Regions from separate parts of the Homo sapiens genome. Here all the other regions are linked to region 1. The links are contacts of gene promoters, found by promoter capture Hi-C in blood cells and fetal thymus (Javierre and others, 2016). All regions are on one chromosome and are shown on one strand. Each heading gives the region's core, a stretch centred on a gene start or on the middle of the fragment in contact. The rest is flanking DNA. Distances are from core to core; before and after follow the strand shown. Region 1 holds the start of SPMIP3 (sperm microtubule inner protein 3). Region 2 overlaps SDCCAG8 (SHH signaling and ciliogenesis regulator SDCCAG8). Region 3 overlaps SDCCAG8 (SHH signaling and ciliogenesis regulator SDCCAG8).

Region 1 (2,700 bases), core at 1-2,500:
AGCCTGTGCGATGAGAGGCTGTTTAGAAGAGGGCTCGCAGCAATGAGTTACTTTGATAGTCCCCTGTTGCTTCTGTTTTCTCAGGCAGGCAGTTTTCCCAGTTCAGGAAGGTTGGTTCCCTTCTCCCCTGACTCTCACCAGTTCTGTAATGAATTCTGCTGCCTGAATACTCTTTCTTTTTTCCTTCTCTAGCCTAAATTAAGCCCATTCTTCAGGGCTTTGTTCAGGTCCTACATACGTTCCCTAGGAGGCCTCTCTTCTGAGTTTCAAATGGCCCATTTCCCTCCTGTGAATTCCCAGAGCCCCTGGGAGATTCTCCTACGCATTTTGGTTCTGAGTCCTTTCCTTTTTGGTTTATTGGTTTCTGAATTGATTTATTCATTTTATTATTTAAGAAAAATTAGTGACAACTCTCCACCAGGCTTTGGATAAGGTTCTAGAAATTCTTCAAACAACGAGACATCTGGGTTTTTTGTTGTTGTTGTTGTTGTTTGTTTTCTTAAACAGAGACAGGACCTTGCTACGTTGCCCGGGCTGGTCTCAAACTCCTGGGCTCAAGTGATTCTCCCACCTCGGCCTCCCAGAGTGTTGGGATTATAGGTGTGAGCCGCCACGCTTGGCCAAGACATCTGTTTTATACAGCACTTTGTCTCTTCAGGTAAAATGTGAGCTCCTAGATGTTGGGGACCACTTCGTTTGGTGGCCACGATCTTCACTCTCTTTGTCCTTCTCCTAACTCATTCTCTTGCAAAGTGTTCGCTGTCCAAGGAGTGCTTGATGCATACTTCAGAATGAGTGAATAAATCAATCGATCAGCTAACTCAGTAACCTGTTAATCTAGTTCACAGTTTTTAAAACCTAGGTCTTCTTGTATCACAGAGAACCAATTATCTTATTTAATATAGGTGTACCCGTTTCTAAGAAAAAAAAGACACGTTGAGTTAAAACTATGACAAGAATTCAAAGTTGAGAGAGATGAGTATTCACTTTCCAAAAGACATTTTTGCTTTACCAAAAGGCTTGCCATGAAGTTTCTTTATGTTGTGAGTTCCTGTCTCTAAAATATTTGAAATGCAGTCAACCATTTAGTAATGCAACCTCTAAATGAGGCGAGAGAGAGGTACAGGCAGTAACAACCAACCGCTATTACCTGCTTGGGCTGCCGTGGGCAGAGACCTCCTTGTTCTTAAAAGTACTCTGAGGACAGTGATGGGTACAGCTGCCTCCTGCTGCTGGATCAACTGCAGAGTGGCAGGGCCTGATTCCTTTACATCATTCAAAGGGTATTGTGACGCACACTGGCTTGCAAGGTTTTGCCAGGCAATGCCTTTCAGGTCCTGGGCTTAGAAAAAGAGTGCTCCTTTGGTCTCTAGGGAGAGACCAGCTGCACATGAAAGAAGGGGCAAAAATTACTGTGAAAAGGAAAATCATGTAGGCAAATAACCAGGCTATCTAATCACTAGAGCTTGCTTTCCTGTAAAGATTGTCCCAAGGACAACGTAAGGTGAAAATCTGGGTGGTGCCACACTGAGGAGTCCTGCCCTTTGCAAGCTGGAATTGAGGAAGGATGGTTTGGCACGAGGGGCAGATGAGGCCAGCCCCGCCTTGTCCAAGGTTAGGTCAGGCTCCAACCTGCTCCTTTGCAGGTATCAAAGGATAATTTTAATTATTTAAAAATATGCTGCAAACCAATCCATGGAGTATCACAACAGCACCACTATATAGAAGCAAGCCATAACCTGAGAAGAAGAGAGTGGCAAAAATATTTATTCTGACCAACCTCTGTCAAAACCAAACCAAACCAAAACGAAACACTGGCATTTTTTTTTCTTTTTTTTTTTTTGTGATGGAGTCTCTGTTGCCCAGGCTGGAGTACAGTGCCACAATCTCGGCTCACTGCAAGCTCTGCCTCCCGGATTCAAGCGATTCCCCTGCCTCAGCCTCCTGAGTAGCTGGGACTACAGGCGCGTGCCACCACGCCCGGCTAAGTTTCTGTATATTAGTAGAGACGGGGTTTCACCACGGCCAGGATGGTCTCGATCTCCTGACCTCATGATCCTCCCGCCTCGGCCTCCCAAAGTGCTGGGATTACAGGCGTGAGCCACCACACCCAGCCAACACTGGCATTATCTACAGTAGGTTGTCCTGGAAACAGGGACACTTCTCACTTATATACAGTTTGCAGGTTAGAATGTAAAATATTTCCATAAGATTCCAGAAGGCACTCAGGAGAGACCAGGGGCCAGGCTGGGTTCCTGCTGGGAGCTTAACCTACATGGAACAGGCATAAAATAATGTAATGACAGAGTCTTGGTGACAGCATTTTGTTGAAAGCAGATAAGCTAGGGAAAACTTAAATAAATATATGAGGACAGAAGCAACAAACTGGAACCACACTAAGAGAAAGGATAAATTGGTTTGATTTGTTGAGTGAGCACCACACGTTTTTTTAGCTATTAGACACACACCATCTAGAATCTCCACCACCACCATGGAAGGAGATTCTCTTTTGAAAATGAAGTATTTCTATTTGAAATGAAGGCTAAGAGAAGAAGCTACGGAACTTGCCTAACAGTCACACAACGAGGCCGTAATGAATCTATGATTTGAATCCAGCTATTTGACGTCAAAGGCGTTTTAAGAGTAATAACCAGTATTCTTCACTGAGGAAAAAAAATGAACAAAAAATCCCCATGTTCT
Region 2 (2,700 bases), core at 5-2,504, 1.0 Mb after region 1:
GTGATACACTCGCTGAGTAATGCCATTAGATTTTTAAGAGACTAAAGATGTGGCACATTTGTTATACTGCAAAATACTCTAAAACCATTGTTATTATTTAAGATACATGGGTCTTCAAACTCAAAGCTCAGCATCCTAGTAAGTCAGAGGAAACTTAAAAAATACAGTTGTATTTCTATACTCAAGGTAGGGATTGGCAACTTTTTCTGTAAAGGGTCAGACAGTAAATATTTTAGGCTTTGTGGGCTATATGGTCTCTACCACAACTCCTCAACTCTGCTGTTGTTGCAGGAAGTAGCAATAGGTGATACATATATGAGTAGGTATGGCTGAGTTCTAATAAAACTTTATTTGTAACATAGACAGCAGGCCAGACTTGACCTATGAGCTGTAGTTGGCTAACACTTTTTTATGAATACTGGGCACATTAGCATATTGAATATGCATATGTGTCTGTATATGTGAGTGGGGATATATACACATATATTAGTATGCAAAATCTCCATTTGCCCATCCCCCTGGTTATGGCAGTTTCTTGGGCACGTGATCAGTGCAGTCACACATGTGCTGTTCAGAAGGGTCCTTACACTTGCAGTTTAATACTCTGTGGTCAATGTCTTGAAATTATTAGCAATTGTATCTTAGAATTGTGTTTTTTTTTTTTTGTTTTGTTTGTTTTGTTTTTATCCAAGACAGGGTTTCGCTCTTGTTGCCCAGGCTGGAGTGCAGTGGCGTGATCTCGGCTCACCACAACGTCCGCCTCCTGGGTTCAAGCAATTCTCCTGCCTCACCCTCCTGAGTAGCTGGGATTACAGGCATGTGCCATCATGTCCGGCTAATTTTTTTTTTTTTTTTTTGTATTTTTAGTAGAGACGGGGTTTCTCCATATTGGTCAGGCTGGTCTCAAACTCCCGACCTCAGGTGATCCGCCACCTCGGCCTCCCAAAGCGCTGGGATTACAGGCGTGAGCCACCACGCCCGGCTAGAATTGTGTTTTGTAGGTGTACTCTGATGGAACAATGGAGACTGAACTCCTGTATGTGGTCTCATCTTTCCACTGCCTCACTGCAGCCCTACGCAGTTCTCAGAAATATACTCCTCTCCAGCTTCCTCTATCCCGCCCTGCCCTGCTGCTGGGGTGGGTCCCTCCACCTAGGGTGGGACCAGGGCACTGGGGGAGGTGCGTATGTCACTGGGGGAGGTGTGTGTTCTCCTGTGTCTTTTGCCCCTGGCAGAATCCTGAATGTGTGTTTAGAGAGGATTGAGTCAAGTGTGCCCATCCCTGCCATCTTAGAGCTGGACAGGGAGGTAAGAATTCCCGCCCCAGGCCGGGCGCGGTGGCTCATGCCTGTAATCCCAGCACTTTGGGAGGCCGAGGCCGGCGGATCAAGAGGTCAGGAGATCGAGACCATCCTGGCTAACACGGCGAAACCCCGTCTCTACTAAAAATACAAAAAAAAAAAAAAAAAAAAATTAGCCGGGCGTGGTCGTGGGCGCCTGTGGTCCCAGCTACTCGGGAGGCTGAGGCGGGAGAATGGCATGAACCCGGGAGGCGGAGCTTGCAGTGAGCCGAGATCGCGCCACTGCACTCCAGCCTGGGCGACAGAGGGAGACTCCGTCCTAAAAAAAAAAAAAAAAGAAAAAAAAAAAAAATGCATGTCCAGCCTGGGTTGGTGAGGGAGGAGGGGCAAGGAGAGAGAGACTGAAGAAGAAAGGAAAATGTTTTATATTTTAGTTCTTTTTAATATCACTTCTTTCCTGCTTTCTGAACAAAAGGGTCCTGTATTTTCACTTTGCACTGGGCCCTAATCAAAGGTTAGCGGCTATAAAGAATCGTCTTCTCAGATTAATTTACCAAAAGGGAAGTTGACAAAAAAACTCTATTTCTGCATCACTCATTTCAGGTCAGCTCATCCTTGTCATGTTAGGGCCTCCTGCAACATGTCCAAATCTTAAATACAAGGCTGTGAAATTAATGCTGAATTTGGGGTTTCGGATGCGAGGAAGCTCCTTTTGGGATATGATTATCAGGAATGCTGCGTGGTAGCCATTTCCTTCACATACTTTGCTGTAGGATTAATTTATACCTCTTTAGAATGACAATGAGGCATTTTATAAAAATAAAGCATAATCAAAACATTATGTACAAAATTTAACAGACAACAACAAAGAAAGATGAAATTTTACTAAGAGTTCTGTTTATTTCCTATTAAAAAGGGTAACACCAGAAAATTGGACATACAAAAACATACTTGTTCTCCTAATTTGAATAAACCAACTGTAAAATCAACATTTTTGAGACAAAGAAATGTGAATATAGGCTGGGTGTTATTTGATATTAAAGAAGTATTGTTAACATTGTTAGGTATGATAATGACATAGTATGTAAAAATATCCTTCATAGATCCACATGGGTATTTATGAGTAAAATAACATAAGGTCTGAGATCCATTTAAAATACTTCTGCAAAAGAAGAAAAAGAGGTAGAGGAAGAAGACAGAAGAAGATGAAGATGAGAAGGTGGAGCAGAAAAAACATGACAAAGAAGATGAAGGTGACGATGAGGACAGAAGTAGAGAGAAAAAAGTGAGATAGATGGAATAGGATTGAGGAGGAGGACTGGCAAAATGATGAGTGATGGAATAGGATTGAGGAAGGGGACTGGCAAAATGATGAGTGATGGAATAGGACTGAGGAAGA
Region 3 (2,700 bases), core at 41-2,540, 1.0 Mb after region 1:
TGGACTGTGAGTCACCTCCAGACCTGGACTACGATAATGACCTCCAGCTGATCTCCAGGCATCTATTCTGCTTCTCCTTCCAATCCACTGACAAAATGATTTTTCTCAAATATAAATGGCATCGTGACACTGACAAATTCAAAGCCATTCAATGGCTTTCCATCCCTTTTTGGACAAAATTGAAAATCCTTCATATGGATTTTAAAGCCATTCATGATTCCATCCCAACATAATTCTCCAAACTCATTCCCACTACTCTGCTCCTCTCTCTCTATGCTCCACCCATCAGGGCCTTCTCCAAATTCCTAGAAAGTGCGATGCTTTCCAGGTCCAGAGTCTTGGGTGTGTTATATTCCTGGGCCTGAAACCCTCTTCCCCTCTTCACCTGTCCATTCATCAATGCTTTCAGGTCTCATTTTCAACATCTCTTACTCAGGAAAGTCTTTCGTGACTGCCTAGACAAGGTCAGATTCCTGTTACACATTCCCACGATATCCTAAACCGAACCTTATGGCTTTATCACAATGATGATCGAAAACTCACTTATGAAAACATTTGTGTAACATCTACTTCTCCTACGAGTTTGTAAGCTTCATGAGGAAACTGCATCGTTCCTGTGACTACAACATTCCCAGCCCCTCTGGTTAATATCTGTTGAGTGTGGAATGAATAAGAGAGAGGAAGGCAAAAGAGGACTGCTAGAAAGCACTGAAAGGACCGTGGACACCGAAGACCTGGAGTCTACAGCCATGTCATCTGCAAGGCTGTGTGATTTTTACCAGCAGAGATCACCAATCCAGGGCAGAGAAGGTAGGTAGTAGGGTTTTGACAGACACAATTTTTAAAAATGGATAAGAAGACAAGGACATTTACAGGAAATGCCTGAGTTTACTCTTATTAAGACTTAAAACTCATAGGGCAGAAGTTGTGATTTTTCTCTTTACATATCTTTAGGCCTCCACATTGCTTTGCACACAGCACATACTCAGTATATACTTACTGAATAAGTTAATTATCACACATTGAATCTGATAACAACATAGCATTTAGAGTACAAGCTGTGAGTCCACTTTTAAAAACAAACATGTAACACAGTTGTTTTGGTTACTTGATGGACCACAACTTGCTCAATTCGAGTCTAGTTAGCAATTTTAAAGCTAGGTCCCACTCAACTCTGTATTCTAGTTTGTGAACTCCTTTTCAAACACTGCTTGTTTCATGTTATCTGTTCCTTTTGCCTTAAATCTCTCCCTTCATCTGGTTACCGTCATTATTCATCATGTAATTTGTCAGAACTGATTTCATACAGAGTGCATAATCACTTTTTCTTGGTTACTCAGTTCCTTACAAGTGTTTCATCTTCTGCATATTTAATTTAGGGGTAGGAGATAATGCAGGGGAAGTCATCTCTCCTTGATTTAGCCAAGGTTGAAATAAAATCTGGGTATCTTCATAGCACGACTCTGGGAAACACGAGAGAGGGAATCCAACAGAATGGCAGGATTTAAAGTAAATTTTGTAATTTCATTGTATGGAATCTAACTGATTATTTTATTTGAAAAGATCAGCATAAACTATTGAGAAATATATGAAAAGATAAAACATTTTTATGAATTCTAAATTATACGAAATTTAACTACTTATATAATAACGATTTTAAAATTTAAAGTTCATTCAAGAACTCCAGCCTATGGAATCATCAATGGCATCATAAAAAACCTTTCTTCTGCAATGTGGATAACAGCAGAGTCCTTAAGTACCTTTGATCCCATGTACTCCCTTTCTTTCGTTATTTCCTTTTTCATCATGTCTTTCTCAATGGCCCTTTTCTCTTGCTGAGATGCAAGTTCTTTTTCAAGTCGCTCCGCCTGCCTCTCCAGCTCCTTCCTCAACTGGTCACACTGGATTAAAGCCTGCCAGGATAGAACAGATTGAAAGAGGAGGTTAGAATTTGGAAAAAATATAGGTAAAATGACATAATTAAGCTTTAAGTATATTTAAAATAGCAAAAACTCACTATAAAGCCCATTAGAATAATTTTTTATTGTTTATCAATACCACTTATTGACCTAAAAGAGTATCCAAATGTTACATTTATTGACATATTTCAATTTTCATGATTAAAGCCATATTAATTAATCAATGACAAAATTCAGGTAATGAACCTTGATGACGGCCACAGATGAGTCAGAATTTTAAAAAAGGGAACCAGAAACACCAAGTGTTCTAATATTTTCAATTATATATCATGTTTATACTACACGAAATACGTAAGTATCCAATTTAACTGATTTCTTATTTGCTCATGGATAAAAATTATTGGAATACTTCAAATGATAGATCAAAATACTAAAATGAAATGTTGAATATATCATTACACACAGGCATCTTTTGTTTAATACTATATAATAATCAAGTTTCCTTAAATATAACTAAGAGAAAATTTAGTTCACTCCCCTTAAACATACAACTGAAGTAAAAATTATGTAATAATCGTAAGTTAAATGGAAAGACTCAAGACAGTATTCACTACTTAGTTTTATAAGGATCTTCCACTTCTGGTAAAGTTCATGATTGTCCTTTACTGTAAATTTCCCACTCTGCATTTCCAGAAATAAAAAATCTCTAACTTCATTTTGGCCACTTTTACAATATCTTTATTTATAACACCCAATAATGAAATATGACTTCAAAAATCCC

What was found. Contacts are between HindIII fragments. The CHiCAGO score rates a contact against its expected background, and 5 or more counts as called.
Region 2: a fragment that was not itself captured here is called in contact with the fragment with the promoter of SPMIP3 in region 1 in 4 of 17 cell types (total B cells, neutrophils, naive CD8 T cells and 1 more); the score reaches 7.5 in total B cells.
Region 3: a contact is called between a fragment that was not itself captured here and the fragment with the promoter of SPMIP3 in region 1, in 2 of 17 cell types (fetal thymus and neutrophils). The highest score is 9.4, in fetal thymus.

What each region holds. Positions count from the first base shown.
Region 1 is chr1:244,351,185-244,353,884 of GRCh38, reverse strand. SPMIP3 (sperm microtubule inner protein 3) reads right to left here and starts at 1,250. Exons shown (of 5, transcript NM_001012970.3): 1 at 1,151-1,250. The HindIII fragment of the contact is 3,357 bases long and covers 1-2,700 here.
Region 2 is chr1:243,346,976-243,349,675 of GRCh38, reverse strand. All of the region lies in intron 12 of SDCCAG8 (SHH signaling and ciliogenesis regulator SDCCAG8), which reads right to left. Among named protein-coding and RNA genes, the nearest start is that of MIR4677, 2.2 kb to the right of the region's middle. The HindIII fragment of the contact is 6,251 bases long and covers 1-2,700 here.
Region 3 is chr1:243,329,753-243,332,452 of GRCh38, reverse strand. It overlaps SDCCAG8 (SHH signaling and ciliogenesis regulator SDCCAG8), which reads right to left. Exons shown (of 18, transcript NM_006642.5): 10 at 1,761-1,913. Among named protein-coding and RNA genes, the nearest start is that of MIR4677, 15 kb to the left of the region's middle. The HindIII fragment of the contact is 1,395 bases long and covers 593-1,987 here.